Regions from separate parts of the Homo sapiens genome. Here regions 2 and 3 are each linked to region 1. Evidence: promoter capture Hi-C in 16 types of primary human blood cells and fetal thymus (Javierre and others, 2016). All regions are on one chromosome and are shown on one strand. The core of a region is centred on a gene start or on the middle of the fragment in contact, and the rest is flanking DNA. Distances in the headings are between cores, read along the strand shown. Region 1 holds the start of CFAP45 (cilia and flagella associated protein 45). Region 2 overlaps CADM3 (cell adhesion molecule 3). Region 3 has its middle 6.5 kb from the start of AIM2.

Region 1 (3,301 bases), core at 399-2,898:
CCTGAGTAGCTGGGATTACAGGTGCCTGCCACCACCCCCGGCTAATTTTTTGTATTTTTAGTAGAGACGGGGTTTCACTATGTCGGCCAGGCTGGTCTCGAACTCCTGACCTCGTGATCTGCCCACCTTGGCCTCCCAAAGTGCTGGGATTACAGGCATGAGCCACCGCGCCCAGCCCTTTCTGCCTCAACTTTGCACCTTTTCTTCAGAGAGTTACCCTGGGCTGAGAAAAGAATAGATTTTCAATTTGGACAGTTTTTTCTTGGCTTGTTTCCTCTTTGGTTACACGGATAGTAACTATGTCATGCAGATGTGCCTGGGAGAATGGGGTGAATACAGGAAGCACCTTATTCACAGTGGGCCGGTTACTTGTCTTCCCTTCTTTCTGAGCTGCAGGGAACGGGGTTCTAATGCCAAGGCTTAGTAAGGAAGGTTCCCACGAACAAAACAGCCCCTTCTCTCAGTCCCAAGCCTCCCAGGGACTGTGCTCCTCCTCTTCAGGCCTTCCCTTCTCCCTCTGATTAAGCCTTCAACACTTGGTGGGACTGGGCAGGGGACACAATTTTGTACTCTTGATCCCAAAGGAGATAAAGGCTGGGAAATCTAGGGAAGGAATGTGAAGCCTGTTGGAGTAAGTCCTTTTAAAAGCAGCAAGAAGTGACCTTGTCTCCCTCTTTCCATTCCCCCGGGGCTTGTGAATAGCCTTCAGTGCCCAAGTTGGAGTAAGAGCTTCAGAAAGACTGGCTGTGAGGGTTTGGAGAGAGGTTTGAGAAAGCAGCTCAGAGACTCACAGAGTCACACCAAGAGCTTAGCTAATCAGCTAATCAGCACTGGAGGAAGACAAATGTCCTTGGTCTGGTGGGACAGCTTCGTGAGGCTTGGAGCATGCAGCCTACCAAAGTGAGCTCAGTGCCAGCCCTGCAAGTTGGGAGGTAGAGAGGCCAAACCAAATTGGAAAAAATGACAAAACCCCTATGTACTTTCTAGAACAATACATACCAGCTAGGAAGTGTTAAAAGACAAGCTCCCCAAAGTCAGTTCCTTAGCTTTTGACTTATTCTAATGTAGGGCCTCCATTTTTAATAAACTCTCCCAGGTGATTCTTAGCTGCAGATTTGAGGCCCGCAATTTAAGAAACTGCTCTTGAGACTGCATAGACATCCTCAGGGCTGGAAGTTCTTTGTTGACCCGACCAGATTCTCTCCTGCTGTGGAACTGGTTTGTCCTGATCCTGCTGGCTTCTCTGCAGACTACACTCATCAGGGGTTGGCTTGGCGCCTCCTGGGCAATGGGGCAAGAGTAATCATAGCAACCTAGGTGAAGTCCCAGGGGAAAACTGTGACCCTGGGCCAGGCTCCTGGGGCCGCTGACAGTTAGAACCCCCTCGGCCCATAGTAAGTTCTTTAGGTTCGGGTTCTGACCGAAAAGTTTGGCCAAAGCCAAAGTGGAGAGCAGGGCACGCCAGGGCGGGTCAATCCTTCAGAGCCGCGGTTGGGCTGGAGCGTGGAGCTGCAACGGTTGGAGCGACGGGCTCCGGTTCCTAAGCCACCAGCACAAGGCAACTGCCCGCTGGAGGTGGGAGGGGCGGGGCCGGGGGCGGGGCCTGAGCCGAAGAACGCGGGCTAGTGGTTGCCAAGGTAACGCGTCAACACTAGGGCCTTGGCGGCGCCGAGGCGGCAGCAGAAGTCCGGAGTCAGGGCGTGTGGCTGAGGAGATGGTGAGGGAGAACCTCAGATGGGCCCCTTGTGTCCTGAATTGGGTGGGGGCTCTGAGTGGGGAAAGTGGGGGCCTAGGGGAGGTCACAGTTGGGTCTAGGGGTCAGGAGGGCCCAGGAGTAAGGAGAACACCTCTAGAAGAAGCAAGGGAGATCCTGAGGTGGGTTCAAAAGAGGAATTAGGGATAGCATCGATAACGATTGGAAATGTGGAGCGCGCTGAGCGGAGGAGTTGGGGAGAAAGGGATGCCCCAACCCTCTCCCCGTTGCCATTACAGCGGGGCCTCTGTGGACCAAAGATTGTGGATGTGGTGTGGGAAAAAGCACTGGTGGGCCGGGCGCGGTGGCTTACGCCTGTAATCCCAGCACTTTGGGAGGCAGAGGCGGGCGGATCATGAGGTCAGGAGATCGAGACCATCCTGGCTAACACAGTGAAACCCCGCCTCTACTAAAAATACAAAAAATTAGCCGGGCGTGGTGGCGGGCGCCTGTAGTCCCAGCTACTCGGGAGGCTGAGGCAGGAGAATGGCGTGAACCCGGGAGGCGGAGCTTGCAGTGAGCCGAGATCGCGCCACTGCACTCCAGCCTGGGCGACACAGCGAGACTCCGTCTCAAAAAAAAAAAAAAAAAAAAAAAGCACTGGTGAGGAGGCCAGATAATGGGTCGTGGTACCTGTTTTGCCACTAACTAGCAAGGTGACTGTGGGTAAGTCATCTAATGTGCCCGAGCCTCAGGTTTTTCTTCTGTTAGCAGGGCTTTGTATCCCTCAGTAGTTAGTCAATAAATATTTGGCAGTGAATGAATGAATGAATAAATGAGTGAGTGAGTGAGGAGGGTCTCAGGTTTGCAAGGCCCGGGAGAGAGATTGGGACAGGACTGGCAGCCTGGGGTTTGCTGGGATGGGGAGGGCTGTCAGGGTACTGAGGGCTGAGAAGGCCAGCAAAGCCTGGGAGGAACCATGAAGGGGATGCCTGGGCTTGAGTGTGTTGGTCCCAGAGGGGAGGGGAAGGGCAGATGATAAGTGTTGGAGTCTTGGGTTATTGGAACTGACCTAGAATGTCTGGGGCACAACAGGTGGCAAAGGTTGCTACTTGGATGTACTTGTGGACAGACTTCAGGCCCAGGGGCTGCATTGCTTTTCTGGGGCTCAGTGGACCTCAGAAGAATTTTGTTAATTATTAAATAAGTCTCCAACAAAGAGCAGTTCCTGACTTTCGAGGACTCCCTGCAGTGTTGTAATTGGGGTGGGGGAGCGTCCCCTTTCACTTATGTATTCTATTTGATTCAGTGTCCCATCTTCTCTCAGCACCTTACAAACACAGTGGCGTATGTATGTATGTGAACACCTACTGTCATGCCTGGTGTCTAAGGGCATATGGTAAATGTTAGTTCCCCTTTTGTCCTCTTTTAAAAATTTCCTATTTCCAAGCTCTCATAGGGCATAAGTTGCACCTGGGCAAGACCTGTGGGCTTCAGAGCACCCAGATCAGGGATTCCCCATCCAGGAGCCACTCAGGGCAGGGGTTTGACTCACTCACTGAGCCCCTCTGTAATTCCTGGGACAGGACTGGGCATATAGACACCTTT
Region 2 (3,504 bases), core at 894-3,393, 720 kb after region 1:
CTTTTCCAGGCTGAATGAGGAGGGAATCTTTGAGATAGTTAGCTAGCTTGCCTGTGGTGGGTGTTAAGGTGGGGTTAAAATGAAAAGCTTATCTTAGAGTTAACCCTTGGTTCTCACTGAAAAACAATTATTCTTAACATTTTTTAATATCCAAAGTTTAAGAGAAAATTCAAATGTTTTCCCCTATCCAAACTTTAAGGTATTATGAATACATATATTTTACATAGTTCCTAAAACCTTGCAGCCAACTTGCGTATCTGGTCATAGCCTACTGAATCCTAAGGGTCAGAGGTGGTTATTTCTAAGATCCTTTTGATTTTACAGAAGGATGGAACTAATGCCCTTTCTGACTCTCTATTGTCCAAGTTCAGTAATTCCTTTTTTCTTTCTGTTGCACCTAATTCTGCCCAAAATATTCTCCCCTCTATGATTCTTAGAAGTGTAGATTTTTATAGTTGACAAGATATTAAGTATCATCTGGTCCAATCCTCTTATTTTAAAGATGAGGAACCAAGGCTCAGAGAGGTTTAGGAACTTGAGCATGGTCACACAGGCAGTGAGTGAGACCTGTACTCATTGATAGTTTATAGCAGTCCTTGTGGACTGGCTAATTCAGTGGTTAATTTGACACTAAGTGTCAAATATTTCCGCTGACACCCACTCTTCCTATGCCTCATCTCCTGTGCATGATACTGAGGAACTCCAGGACCGTGGACCTTAAGAGAAGTAAGTCTACTAAATGCCCAGTAGGTTGGAGAAGTTTGGTTATGATGAAGAGGGAGTCCCTGAAGATGGGGCGGATGGCATCTTCTTACACTTCAGGGCTTTACCGGCAGGTTCCAGTTCACACAGAAGAAGAGGCCATTGGGCAGAAGTCACTGCCATGCCCTTTGGAGCTAAAAAGGGTGACTGTGAGGACAGGTGGCATGTGTGTGTGCGTGTGTGTGTGTGTGTGTGTGTGTGTGTGTCTGTCTGTGTGCTTGCTGGCATCTGCAAGGTGAAGAGCTGAGGGAATGCTAACCTGATTGTGAAGCAGGAGACAGGGGCCAGAAGAGAAGAGAAGAAAAAAAGCAGAGGAACATGTCCTATTCTTGAGCTGGAGAGAGAAAAAATCTGGAGGCAGAAGTGGGCTTGTGGTAGGCTGAGGGGGGCCTTCAGAGACTTAGTTAAGATTCCGAGGAGCAGAGACTGGGAAGTGGGTGGCAGGGAAGGAGGTGGGGACAGCTGTTGCTTTGATTTGCTATTGAGTCAGTGTTCTTGGTGCATTAGCACCAGGAGGGAGCCCTGGGCTGGCCCCCAACCAAAACAAGCCCCTCTGTAGCCAATACTGAGTTGTAGCAAGGAGAACTGCAGTTGAGAGACAAAAAGGGAGGGGATTTGATCCCGAAAGAGTCTCTTCCTTGCCTTAGCTGCTTCCTTCTGGGACTGGGCTGTGTGCTCTAGACAAGCATCTAGTGTTCTGCCTGAAGAGGATGAGAGGGTGAGGTGAAACTGAGCACGGGGGAGGGCTCAGTGAGGACCTCTAGAGCACAGATTCTGTGCAGGTACTGACTGTCTTCAGTTGTTTTGGAGTAGGCCCCTGAAGACAGGATGATAACAGCCCTGAGCCATTTTAGGAGTGTCTGTTTATCCCATCTCCTCATTCCCTTCTCACTATGATCAAACACTTTAGACATACGGACAGGTATGACTTGAAATCTGCATTCTAATGCAATACAGTCAGGAGGCCAGACTTTGAACTCTTAGTTGTCCTCTTAAACTAAGTAGAGGGATTTTATACCCTTTCCCCCAATTTATCTTGCTGTTTTCACACATATGTAATAAAACTGGGGGGAAAAAGTTCCTCATCTTAGGAAAGTACTTGAGAAAGGAAACATAACAGAGTCAAACGCAGAATTCAATTTAGCTCATTGGAAGGGTATGGGAAAATAGAGACTGGGAATGGGCCAGAAATCCCAGAAAATCAGAAGTAAAGAATATATTCTCTGGAGATGAAAAATCTCAGCCCAGGTTCCAACAACTTGCTCATACTCTGCACTACCCATCCCAGTGCCCCAATACCTGTCTGAGGGCATGGATGAATTCCCTTTCTCAGTGGGCTCTGTCTTATTCTCCTATGCTCCTTATGTTGCACTTTAGATATTACAGGCTGATGGCTTGGTGTGGTGGGATAACAATGCTGTGGAAAAGTTTAATTTGTTAGAAGTCAAGCAAGAAAGCACTCATCTCTGCTGGTTCTGATTTTCCTGACTTGTTTTTACTGTTTCCCTTCACTGGATGATCAGAGTCTGGGTGTGGATGACAGGTTCAGGGCAATGGTTAGGAGCATTACATGAAGAAAAATGTGTTCTGCTCTACACACCCACACTACTCTAGTTTCACTGATTCCCCCAATCCTAACTGCTATTTAGTCTCCCTGCACTCTTCTCACTTAAAAAAAAAAAAATCTGTATTTTTAAAATTGCGGTACATTGTTCGCATTAGCCTCACTTTGTGAGAATTTCACTCTTCTGTGAAATAGATACATTCTCCCAAGTCCACAGATCTCACAGTCCCCGAAATGGAAAATAATATTGTTCTGACATAAAGAACTCTTATCTCTCTTCTTAAATCTCCATTGAGTGTCTCTTATTTGATGGGGGCAAACACACATTTTTGTTCCCTAAGATAGATGCATATTTTGACATGTGCCCCTCAATACACACACACAAGACACTCTGATTCTCACTAATCATATTTCTGGGGTTTTTTTCTGACATGAACACACAGATTTTATTATGACCCAGATACAGAGCCCTTTTCACATGCCCATATTAATCAGAACCCCTTACTTCCAGAATACCATATGGCTTAAACTCAGAGATTCTCCCCAAAGCAGAATTCAGGCTCTCTCTTCTGCTCAAACTCCCCAGGAGAGGGCCAGAATCCTCTCCTCTCCAGGGTTGAGGCTCAGTCCATCTGTCACTGACATTGGACTCCAGGGCTTGGAAACCAGAAAAGAGTTGGCATTAAGTGGCAATTGAGGATAAATCAAAATATGGGAGGCTCAGGGGCTTAGTGGTGGTAATTTTTATATTTGTGTGAGATTAGCAGATAGAAGTTATGGGAAGAAACATATAATATGTATTTGGAAAGATCTCATCCTTAAGAACTACAGCAAGAACTAGTGAGTGCAATTGTTTCACTGTAATTTTTGCATTTGCTGGGCAAAAAAAAAATGATTAGGAGCAGATGGTAAAACTGGCTTCTCATTTTATAATAACTCAAGAACTCAGCTCCAGGCTCTTCAGACTGACTGACTGCTATGCTAAGTTCCAAGTTACCTCTCATTGATATACTTACTGAAATCAGAATTGGAAGCAAAGCGCCAGGTCATAGAAGGGTAAAAGTAAAATATGAAACAAGAATCTGCATATTTCCAATAAAATCTGTTGTCAGAAGTACTAGTTCTTCATCCTACCTTGCCAGTATTTGGGAGTATATGAAGAAAGGGGAGAAATGAAT
Region 3 (3,426 bases), core at 492-2,991, 820 kb after region 1:
GTTTAGGGAGCAGAAACAGTGAACTTATCCAGAATAGTTTTGTTGCCTGGTTTGGTGTGTGTGTATGTGGGTGGAGGGAGAAGGTGTGGGAAACACATTTTTGTTTTTTCTGTGAGTTTAGTCTTGACCTTGTTCCTTCAGTCCTTCAGACTCTCCAGTGATCTCTGAGGGATGTGTGTGTGTGTCTGTATGTGTGTGTGTGTGTGTGTGTGTGTGTGTGTGTGTGTATTTCAGACAGGGTTTTGCTCTGTCACTCAGGCTGGAGTGCAGTGGTTTGATCACCACTCACTGCAGCCTCAAACTCCTAGACAATCAAGTGATCCTCCTGCCTCAACCTCCCAAGTAATTGGGACTACAGGCATGTGTCACCAAGCCCTGCTAATTTTTAAAATTCTTTGGAGAGATAAGGTCGCCGTTTTTTGCTCAGGCTGGACTTGAACTCCTGGCTTCAAGCGATTCCCCCGCCTTGGCCTCCCAAAGTGCTAGAATTACAGGCATGAGCCACCGTGCCTGGCCTGGGTTTAATATTTTTAATAAAGTTTCTGTCTCCTTAAACTATCAAGGGAAGCTTATGTTGTTTGCAGTAGGAATCTTGAACAGTTCAAGATTGTTGCTTTCTCTCCAGTAGGAAGTCTAGCTGTGTTTTGAGCTGTGTGAAAGGAGAAGGGAAGGATGTGGTGAGCGAGAACCAGAAATAAGTGGGCTTGGAGGAGGGAAGGCCCTGCCTCTCCAGGGTTTTTTCATTTGATCACATTATATAGAATATATAAATTATGTACAAATATGCCAAAAAGCAGGGCAGAGTGATGGAAAGAGAATTGGAATTTTAGAAAATAACCAGATTTAAATTCTGACTCTACCACATACTAGCAGGGTACCCTTGAGCAAATGACTTAACTTCTTTAAACTCTGTTCCCTCACTTATGGGTTTCAATTAATATATTTACCACATAGAGTGGTAGGGTTACATGAGATAGCCTGTGAAAAAGATCTCTCACTTATTGGCTTACTGGCTGAGTGGTAAAGGTTAGCTCTGTGTGCCAGAGGCAATTAGGGACTCTAGAGAATGCATCAATAATTGGTTATATATAGGTGGTCCATAAATATTGACTATTCAATTCCATTGGCCTAGAATTCCACTTTTTGTATTTCCACATGTTAAAACTCTTATTCCTTCCAATAGGACTAGTCCAAGTGCTATTGTTTTTCTCTAATTGGACCTTTCCAAATTCACTTAGCTGGAAGTAAAGAATTCTATTTCTGAAATATTATTATATTTTATCATAGGTCATATTTGGATTAATGGTGTAGAATGTAGATCCTTAGGATAGTATAGAATATAGATCCTTAGAATAGGAAGATACTTGGGTGAGTATTTAGTAGAGCTAAAATTTAGTAGAGCTAAATGGTATAGAATATAAATCCTTAGAATAGGAAGATACTTCAATGAGCATTTAGTAGAGCTATTTATGTTTTAAATTTATTTTCATTCAGTTAATATATTACTATTGATTGAAATTCAATAATATTACAAGGATGATAATAAAGAGTAGTCCCCTGCCTCATACCTTACCACTCCCAATTCCCACTCACTCAAGGCAACATTTTTTAACCTTTCATAATATTGCTACATTCCTAGTTTTCAATTTTAGCCACTCCATTATCTATTGATTTGCTGCAATAGAAGATACAAATTTACTTTTCTTACACCTCTTTTCTTACATTGTTGGAACCCTACATCTTACAAATACATGTACATCATCTCTCTTTCCACTTTCCCAATATGGTCATTTCACAATTGTTGATTAAATCACTGTTTGGTGTTTTACATTACCATAACTATCTAAATAAAACTAATAGTTAAGCCATGTAGTATGTTTAGATTCCTTCTTTATGCATCTTTATTTTTTTCTGAAGTCAGTGACATATCTTTAATAATTTGTTCCATCTTGACGTGCTTATTGCTAATTCTTTTAAAAGATCCAAAACAGTAAAATTTCTCTCAAAATAAATTCAGGTAATTTCTCTGCAACCACCCACTACCTGCAAAACTTACACATATATCTCACACACTTTTTCCTTAGGAAATATTCTTTTTTGAGCTTTCCGTCCCCCTGTTTTGAACAAGTTTCAGTCTAGCTGTGTACAAGTCAAGGTTCAAGGGCTTCTGGTCACCATTATCCTGGGGTGACATCATCCTTGTGGACTGAATGTTTGTGTTACCCCCAAAATTCATATGTTAAAATCCTAACCCCTAATGTGATGATATTAGGAGGTGGGGCTTTGGGGAGGCGATTAGATCTTGAGGGTATGGGCTTCGTGAATAGGATTAGTGCTCTTATACTACGTGGGATAGTGCCCAGGGAGCACTTTCATCTCTTCTGCCATGTGAGGACACAGCAAAAAGCCATCATCTTGCTAGGTGTGGTGGTGCACACCTGCTGTCCAGGACTTAGGGTCCAGCTTTGGCAACATGGCAAGACCTTGCCTTTAAAAAAAAGAAAGAGAGAAAGAAAAGAAAAAAGATGGCTGTCTTTGAACCAGGAAGCAAGTCTTCACCAGGTACTGAATATGCTGGTACCTTGATCTTGGACTTCCCAGCCTCCAGAATTGTGAGAAATAAATGTGTATATAAATTGTTGTTTATAAGTCACTTAGTCTATAGTATTTTTGTTATAGAGGCCCAAACAAACTGAGACATGGAGATTCCTGAATAATTTTGTTCCTTCCTTACATGTACATGTGATTATTATAATTATCAGCTAGGTATAGAAGACGAGGCTGAAAATTGTTTTCCTCAAATGTTAAAGGAATTGCTCCACTCTCTTCTAGCTTCTAGTGTTGTTGTCAAGAATGCCAATTCTATTCTTATTCCTAATCCTCAGATATGATCTATTCTTTCTCAGGAAGCTTTTAGGATCTTCTCTCTCCTTGGTGTTTTGTAATTTTAAAAGCATGTGGCTAGAAAAAAAGAAAGACCTAAAAATCAATCATCTAAGCTCCCACATTAGGAAACTAGAAGAATAAGAGTAAATTAACTGCAAAGTAAGCATAAGAAAATACAGTTTTAAAAAATTAGAGCTGAAATCAATGAAATTGAAAACAAAAATTAAGAGTGCTTCACTGCCTCCTGTTTTCAGGGAGCTGGAGCTTACTTCCCCAGGGACTTGGCTGGGAAGGGCTTTCTAGCATCTGGGCCACACTGCAAAGGCTGGAGTATTTTAAGAGTTTACGTGTCAGGAAGAGTCTGTTACTTTTAAAGTTAACTTAATTGTCCTTTTAGACTTTTTTTAAAGTTAACTTAATTGTCCTTTTATTTTTGGATCAAGTCCTATGCCAGGGATTTTAACTGCACTTTGAATGTGTTACCAAGGTTATGGTGACCCTTGGATGCTATTTTTGGAAGAAAGACGAATGGTGACAGAC

Evidence for each region. The method cuts DNA at HindIII sites, captures the fragments that hold promoters and counts their contacts. A CHiCAGO score of 5 or more calls a contact.
Region 2: a fragment that was not itself captured here is called in contact with the fragment with the promoter of CFAP45 in region 1 in 7 of 17 cell types (M2 macrophages, endothelial precursors, M1 macrophages and 4 more); the score reaches 11.1 in M2 macrophages.
Region 3: a contact is called between a fragment that was not itself captured here and the fragment with the promoter of CFAP45 in region 1, in 1 of 17 cell types (neutrophils). The highest score is 5.3, in neutrophils.

The regions. Positions count from the first base shown.
Region 1 is chr1:159,898,512-159,901,812 of GRCh38, reverse strand. It overlaps CFAP45 (cilia and flagella associated protein 45), which reads left to right and starts at 1,648. Exons shown (of 12, transcript NM_012337.3): 1 at 1,648-1,717. The coding sequence starts at 1,715. It overlaps MIR4259 (microRNA 4259), which reads left to right and starts at 1,734; the gene lies at 1,734-1,834. It overlaps LOC124904435 (a long non-coding RNA gene), which reads right to left and starts at 1,563. Exons shown (of 3, transcript XR_007066679.1): 1 at 1,000-1,563. The HindIII fragment of the contact is 6,665 bases long and covers 1-3,301 here.
Region 2 is chr1:159,179,522-159,183,025 of GRCh38, reverse strand. All of the region lies in intron 1 of CADM3 (cell adhesion molecule 3), which reads right to left. Among named protein-coding and RNA genes, the nearest start is that of CADM3, 9.7 kb to the right of the region's middle. The HindIII fragment of the contact is 4,108 bases long and covers 90-3,504 here.
Region 3 is chr1:159,081,580-159,085,005 of GRCh38, reverse strand. It overlaps a transcript of AIM2 not described here and the pseudogene RAD1P2. Among named protein-coding and RNA genes, the nearest start is that of AIM2, 6.5 kb to the right of the region's middle. The HindIII fragment of the contact is 2,342 bases long and covers 571-2,912 here.